Regions from separate parts of the Homo sapiens genome. Here region 1 is linked to region 2. Evidence: promoter capture Hi-C in human tissues and cell types (Jung and others, 2019). All regions are on one chromosome and are shown on one strand. The core of a region is centred on a gene start or on the middle of the fragment in contact, and the rest is flanking DNA. Distances in the headings are between cores, read along the strand shown. Region 1 has its middle 8.0 kb from the start of LINC02117. Region 2 holds the start of GDNF (glial cell derived neurotrophic factor).

Region 1 (3,895 bases), core at 614-3,113, 73 kb before region 2:
GGGCGAAATGATTTGCCCAAAATAAAGCCTCTGTGTGGGATGGTCAGGTTCATAGGCAGTGCCAGCCTTTCCCAGCTCTCACACCTGACTTCAGCGTCCTGATTCTCTCACCTCACAATAATGCAGCAGAACAAATGTTCTTTAAAACCCTGAAATTTCTCATGGTTCCTGACAAAACAATAAAGCAATCAAAGGTCAATTAAGAAATGTATTCTAAAATCAGCTGGGCGTGGTGGCTCACGCCTGTAATCCCAGCACTTTGGGAGGCCGAGGCAGGTGGATCACTTGAGGTCAGGGTTCCAGGCCAGGCTGACCAACACAATGAAACCCCATCTCTACTAAAAATCCAAAAATTAGCTGAGTGTGATGGTACATGCCTGTAATCTCATCTACTCAGGAGGCTGGGGCACAAGAATCACTTGAACCTGGGAGGCAGAGGTTTCAGTAAGCTGAGATCACGCCACTGTACTCCAGTTTGGGCAACAGAGTGAGACTCTGTCTCAAAAAAAAAAAGTATTTTAAAATCAAATAATGTTTAACTGCCTGATCTTTTGAGTTATTAACAGTAAGGGTACCTACCAAGAAGACTGACAATTAGTGGTCAGTGGCATCAAAACTCTCATTATAAGTCTATATTTTCTTACTGTCCTGGCCCTCAATCCTGAACAACCCCCTCCTCTCCCTCTGCCCCCCACCCCACTCCCTACTCGCACATTGACACCAGATCAGGGATCCAAAGGAACAGAGAGAACACAATGGAAAACAATGCATCGTGGATGGAGAATGGATGGCGTGGGCTGGCGGTCCAAGGAAAAAAAAAAAAAAAGCCCAGAAAATGTCTGTCCTTCCAAAGAGAACACGTTTACAAAAAAATCTTCCCAAAGAGCAAAGCCAAGACAAGGGTTCATCCTGATGCACCTCAAGGGGCAAGGCCACTAAAGGAGTCAGAACAGGCTCCGGAGGCAATCGCAGTCTCCATGGATTGCACGAGAGACATTTCCAGCCCATCTCCCATCTCCAAGTGTGCCTCTGGGGGAAGCTGGAGAGGAAGAAATGTGGAACTGCCAGTGACAGCAGAGGCTTTTGATTAAGGAAAACAAATGAAGTGGAAGCTTTGTCTTTCAAATTCCCCAAAACAGTTTTCCAAAAGAATAACGTACATTAAAAAAAAATGGAGTAGAAATGTTCAGTGCTTCAGCCTGGAAGGCCAGATGGGGAAGGCAAATAAATCAATGCTTTCAACAAGAAGGGCAGTGCTGCCAAGCTAGACAGGGAACGGGATTCTCTGTTGTCCTTATCTCTTCTCATCCAATGACAGAAGTTACGAACTGTATGGAAATAGATGGTAGAATGAATCAATTACATCCACTTGTTAACCCTTTTCCAAATACGTACTATAGCTGGTTTAGCAAATCTGGTCTCTTGCCTATGCCGGTCCCATCTGATAAGCGCCTTCTTATTCCTCAGGGTCCAGCTCAAACGCCCCCTCCTCCGTGAGGCCTCCCTGGACTCCCCCAGGTAGTGCCTACAGCCCCTTCCCCTTTGTTCCCATGGCCTTCATGCATACTCTCCAAAGACTTAGTGTCATATTGTCATCTATTTATGCATCTGTCTCAAGTAAACTGGAACTCCTGGAAGGTAAAAGCCAGATCTTGCTCATTTTCTCATCTATAGCACCTAAAAAAATGCCTACAAGGAAACAGGTGGATGGACAGATGCACAGATGCCGGGGGAGCCATAGGGGCCACTGTTCTGAAAAGGCATCTTTGTCAACAGGAGAGCTGCCCACCCATGAGACAGACTCCTATAGGCAGAGTCATCCTTTCTGGAAGTTTGGAAGGGCTGTCAGCAAGATCTCTGCCAGTCTCCTCTGTGTCTCTATTTATACCTTGGGGCCAGGAGACAGGAGGAGGCTATCTGAACTCAAGGATAATGGTCAGCAAATAATACGCCCTCCATTTATTCTTGGCAAAGATCCCCAGAGGTTAGGTTTCCTCTAGAAAGTAGCCACTTACAGAGGGAAATTCCACTTTTTAAATTCTGTTATTTTCAAAGGAATTGACAGAAGCTTTAAATATCTTCTTGATAGTCTTTAAGTCACCAAAACTCACCCGTAAGCAAAAAGACTACAGGCACTGCAAAAGCTGCTGACTCAAAAAATTTCAGGAGGTTAATAGAAAGGAAACACCAAAACAAAAAGAAAAACTGAAGGGGTACAAGAGCACGGATTTTTTTTTTTTTAATCAGGAGAGAGGATGTAAAATCATCAGCCTATTCAAGTATTTTATTTTTTGCAGGGATTTTGCTCACTCCTTTTTGTGGTTTTTAAATTTTTAATTTTTGTGGGTATATAGTAGGTGTATATTTATGGTATACGTGAGACGTTTTGATACAGAACCGCAATGTCTAATAATCACATCATGAAAGATGAGCTATCCATTCCCTTAAGTCTTTATCCTTTGTGTTACAAACAATCCAATTATACCCTTTTATTTTTAAATGTACAATTAAATTTTTGACCAGTCACCCTGTGGTGCTATCTAATACTAGGCCTTATTCATTCAATTTTTTTGTACCCATTAACCATCCTCCCCACCCTCCCAACTACCCTGCCCAGCCTCTGGTAACCATCCTTCTACTCTCTATCTCCATGGGTTCAATTTTGATTTTTAGATGCCACAAATAAGTGAGAACACGCGACATTTGTCTTTCTGTGCCTGGCTTTTTCACTTAATATAATGATCTCCACTTCCATCCATGTTGTTGCAAAGACTGAATATCCTTCTTTTATTATAGCTGAATGTATTCCATTGTGCATAAGTATATTTTCTTTATCCATTCACCTGTGGATGGACACTTAGGTTGCTTCCAAATCTTGGCTATTATGAACAGTGTTGCAACAAACATGGGAGTGCAAATCTCTCTTCAATATATTGATTTCTTTTGGGTATATAGACAGCAGTAGGTTTGCTGGATCGTATGGTAGCTGTTTTTAGTTTTTTGAGGAATCTCCAAACTGTTCTCCATAGTGGTTGTACTAATTCACATTCCCGCCAACAGTGTATGAGAGTTCCCTTCTCTCCACATCCTCACCAGCATTTGTTATTCTCTGCCTTTTGGTAAAAGCCATTTTAAATGGGGTGAGATGATATCTCATTGTAGTTTTTATTAGCATTTCTCTGATGATCAGTGATGTTCAGCACCTTTTCATATGCCTGTTTGCTATTTGCATGTCTTTTGAGAAATGTCTATTCAAATCTTTTGCCAATTTTTTAATCAGATTATTAAGATTTTTTCCTACAGAGTTGTTTGAGCTCCTTATATATCCTGGTTACTAATCCTTGTCTGATGGGTAGTTTGCAAACATTTTCTCCCATTCTGTGGGTTGTCTCCTCACTTTGTTGATTGTTTTCTTTGAAGTGCAGAGTTTTTTTTTTTTTTAACATGATATGATCCCTTTTATCCATTTTTGCTTTGGTTCCCTATGCTTTTGGGATATTGCTCAAGAAATCTTTGCCCAGACCAATGTCCTGGTGAGTTTCCCCAATATTTTCTTGTAGTAGTTTCATAGTTTGAGGTCTTAGATTTAATTATTTAATCCATTTTGATTTTTTTGTATATGGTGAGAGATAGGGGTCTAGTTTCATTCTTCTGCATATGGATATTCCATTTTCCCAGCGCTATTTATTGAAGAAACTGTCTTTTCCCCAGTGTATGTTCTTGGCACCTTTGTGAAAAATGAGTTCACTGTAGGTGTGTGGATTTGTTTCAATGTTCTCTATTCTGTTTCTTTGGTCTATGTGTCTCTTTTTATGCCTGTACCATGCTGTTTTGGTTACTATAGCTCTGTTCAAGTATTTTAATTCTGTAATGGGGCAAGTAAAAAAACGTTTAG
Region 2 (4,047 bases), core at 628-3,127:
TGCCTGGCACACAGCAAGTGCTAGATATTTGCAGGTGCTTGGACGGGCTGATCATCCCCAGCAAAAAGCCCTCTAAAAATAAAGAAATCATTCAGAGTAAGAACATTGATGAGGGTCGTCTTCAAATTCCAAAAACAATGCTAAACGGCAATAAATATATTAAGCTTATTCTGCCCTCTAATTTCTGAATCTAACTACATTTCTACCATAAATCTATCAAAGAGGGAAATGTCATTTTCTGCAGAACTCCAGAGAGCATCCTAATTTCAGCTAAGGTATGTTTTGATGACTCGATTTTCACTTCGCTTAATCTTAAATCACAGCAACGTTAGTAAGAACAATTTTCCTCCCACACTCGCTTCACTGACAAACCTGCAAAGTAGCTGATCTTTGACTTTTAAGAAGTTTAATAATACATGATCTTCCCCCCACACTGCCACACGCATTTCCCCTGCCTATTGTCTGTATCAGCTACTTGAAGAACACATACTCCCCAACAACCGGATGAGTCATAAAATAAGAGGTACATGGACGTAAACTGAGCCTGTTTACACTTTCCCTGGCCCCAGCTAATAAAATAAAAGAGGTCCCACTGAATTCAGGTCCAATGGCTTCCGGAAAACAGGTTTCTGCTTAGCAAAGACATGCCCTATTTAGTACATTATTTTAGAGGTACAGCCAATTCCATGCCCCATGTGAATGAAATGTATTTATGGTTATAGCCATGCACAGGGTGTGTAAGGACTTGCCCTCCTCCTGTCCTCTACAAAAGAAGGCTCAGGCAGCTTCTGGTGGTGAACTAACCAACAAAAGGAATGCCCAGAAGGTCTCACCTCTCCCATCCACAGAGCTCTGGAATGGGGGCCGGGCCCCTGATCGCTGGAAACTCAGCATCCAAGTGGGCGCTTGCTGAAGTTTCCCATCTGCATTTTCGAAAATCTGGATAAAAGCAGGTTTAGCTCAACCTCCCCTAACCCGTTCCTGATAAAGTGATCTTACGCCTCTGGAATTGGGATTTTGAATGTATGTGCCTGCCCCATGTCTGGTATTAGATTACAACAGCATGAAAATGGAGCCTAGGACTGAGGAGCCGGCCAGCCTCAGAAGCCTTCTTCATTGCCTGCCATGTAATACATGATATGCAAAGCCTCTGACTTCAGCCAGCAGATATTTGGAGACCGTGTTGGCCTTAGCATGGGGACTAAACTAATGTGTGTTTAGGTCAGAAAGCGAATCAGAAAAGCCACTGGAGGGCACGTCACGGAGTGAGAGCCCTATAAATTCATCCCCACTCGCAGCGTCCCCTGGCAAATACTCGGCTTCCCTCACCCGGCCGCTCCGCACCTCTCCTTCTCGGTGCTAGAACTCCGGCCGGCAGCTCCTTTTCTCGCCACTGCCTCCTGCCCTGCGGAGAAGCGAGAGGGCGAGACACCCGAGCGGGAAGGCCGGCCTTCGACAGGCGCGAGGAAAGCCCGGCGCTGCCCTGCACCGGCAGAGCGCCACCCTCCCAGTGCGGCGCGCGGGGGCAAAGCCCGGCGCGGGCGCCGCGGTCAAGTTCGGATTGCCCCTTTCGGCTGGCCCGCGCAGAGCGCCGCACATTCCTCTCGATTTTTGATCCACCCGGAGAGGAGAAGGCGCTAGCCCCGCGGCGTCTCCGCGCTCTCAGCGCTCTCCCTGCAGCCCAGGGAGGGGCGCCTCGCGTCGCCCACTCGCACCCCGGCCCCCCGCCTCGGGAACTCCAGGGCCTCCTCGCTGCTCTCCTCTCCTCCCCCACCGCCAGGCCCAGCCGACGCCTCCCGACCCCTCCCTCCCGGGGCCCCGCGCCTCCCCTCCCCCACCCCGGACCCCGGACCCCCAGCCCGGGCTCTAGAAGACCAGCCTGCGCTCCTGGCGCCCTCATGTCTTCACGGGACTCCCCGCGCCGGTTGACGTGGTGTCTCGTTCGGATCTCCAGGCAAGACCTCAGCTCCGGCAGCAGCATCAGACAAACCAGTCTCGTGCTCCCAGGCAGTGCGCCCAGAGGAGGCGCAGAGCGCGGCAGCTGCCGCTGAGCCGCCCGCAGCGCCCCGGGCCCGCGCAGCCCCAGCCAAGAGCGCGACGCGCGCAGCCCTGTCAGCCCCCCACCCAAAGCAGCGGCGGCTGCTCGGACCTCGGCTTCTGGGGGTGCGGGGGCCCGGCGGGAGAGTTGCCGGCAGCCCTCGCCCTGTTGGCGGCGGCGGCGGCGGGAGTCTTGGCCGCCGCCTCCAGCGCGCCCTTGCTGCCCCGCGCGACCCCAGGATTGCGAACTCTTGCCCCTGACCTGTTGGGCGGGGCTCCGCGCTCCAGCCATCAGCCCGGATGGGTCTCCTGGCTGGGACTTGGGGCACCTGGAGTTAATGTCCAACCTAGGGTCTGCGGAGACCCGATCCGAGGTAAGTGAGGGAGCGGGCCGGGGAGCAGGGAGCGGGTGGTGCCTGCGTCGCGGGTGGGTGCGGCCGGCTGAAGGGCGCCCTAGTCAGAGGGGTGCGTCTGGACCCCAGAGCAAACGGTGAGAGTAGAAAGTGGAAAGACTAGAGGGAACCTAAGCTATGCGAGGAGAGAGAAAAGTAGAACCGGAGAGAGGCCGGCCTTTCGGAGGGGCATGTTGCCTTTTCCACGTGGGCAAAGATCTGTGGAGCCCCAGATGCGCCTGGACCCGGAATGCCCAAGAGGGGCAGTTTCCTTCCCCGACTCGGCCAGGTGCTCTTCCGTCAAGTCACAGAACGATTCAGGGCTTGGGTCATCTTCGAACCCACCGCCGTCGAAATGTGTCCTCTCTGGACGTGCAGAGATACTATCATTGCCAAGAGTGCAACTTACTATTGAGCTTGTTTTGATCTGTGCCAAGGAAAAGCGCAGGCCGGGGGAGGGGCTGCTGCAAAGGTGCTGAGAACCTAAAAATGGAGGGCTCACCTCCTCCGGGCGAGGTCTGGCAAAGCTACATTCCTCACCCGGTTGCCTGCACGTTCCTAACGCCCTCCACCCCAACTAACCATCCCCGTCGAGGTTAGGAGAGGGGCTTTCTTGCCAGTCCTGGATTCAAATCTCTGTCTCGAACGTATTCTTGAGACTCCACTAGGCCATTGAGGTTATTATTTTAATGACCCCTTTTTCTCCTGTACTCTGTGCCGCCTTCCAAAAACACCCCACCACCACTGCCACTACTTTACACCACCTCGAGGCTAATTCCGCACTGGTGGTTTGTTTCCTGCCCCAACGAAGAAAAACGAACCCTCTTCGGGCTGGAAACGGACTTTCGCGGGTTCCCGCCAGCTTCCTGGGGCCCAGCTAGTTTCGGCTTTGGTAGAATCCGCCGCCAGGACCCATGTGCGCGCCCCCGGGGGGCTTACCCATCCCAGAGCTCGCGACCCTTCTGCTCATAGGCGGGGACAAAGGCAACTCTTCCGGCCCCTGCTGCGGAGATGTTAGAACGCGCTCGACTCTTGCTCAGTGTTTGGAATATATGCTTAGGTATTTCAAGGAAGAGATGTTTCTTCCAACCTCATTCACGCACCCAGTCCCGCAAAGCCGTCAAAGCCGGCCTCGACCAAACTCGTACTGTTTCGCTGCGCCTTCGCTTTGTCAGGGAAGGTGGCGCCTTTTCAACAAGTAACAAGTGTCCGATCTCTGGGAAGTCCGCCGTGTCCCTAGCCCTTTCCCGCTAGCAATTCGGGTGCTCTCGGGCCTGGAACCTGGCCCTTTAAACAGACCGCTTTCCCAGTTTGCCTGCGAGAAGTGTCCCAAATTCTTTTTCCTTCCCTCATCTTGGGCCCCGCAGTTATGGGGGGTTGAGGGGAGAATAAGTCCTCTGTCAGTCAAGGACACGAAGCATAGTTAAGAAAAGCAATAGATCTTCCAGCAATTTCTGTCTCTACCTCCCCCCGCCAAAAAAAAAAAAAAAAAAACCGAGTTTATAGCAAACCCGTCTCCCCGCCCCACCGCCTCCTTTTTCTCTCTCTGAGACCTGGATCTTGAAGGCAAAGCCCAAACAAACCTCCCAGCCTGCCAGGCACAAGAAGGTGCGGGGGC

Evidence for each region. The method cuts DNA at HindIII sites, captures the fragments that hold promoters and counts their contacts. A contact is called where the count stands out against the background at its distance.
Region 1: a contact is called between a fragment that was not itself captured here and the fragment with the promoter of GDNF in region 2, in 2 of the 25 tissues and cell types used here (dorsolateral prefrontal cortex and mesenchymal stem cells).

The regions. Positions count from the first base shown.
Region 1 is chr5:37,910,963-37,914,857 of GRCh38, reverse strand. No RefSeq gene overlaps it. Among named protein-coding and RNA genes, the nearest start is that of LINC02117, 8.0 kb to the left of the region's middle. The HindIII fragment of the contact is 5,293 bases long and covers 1-3,895 here.
Region 2 is chr5:37,837,871-37,841,917 of GRCh38, reverse strand. GDNF (glial cell derived neurotrophic factor) reads left to right here and starts at 1,877. Exons shown (of 3, transcript NM_000514.4): 1 at 1,877-2,411. GDNF-AS1 (GDNF antisense RNA 1) reads right to left here and starts at 2,034. Exons shown (of 4, transcript NR_145476.1): 1 at 1,880-2,034. RefSeq lists an enhancer at 2,016-2,953. The HindIII fragment of the contact is 15,271 bases long and covers 1-4,047 here.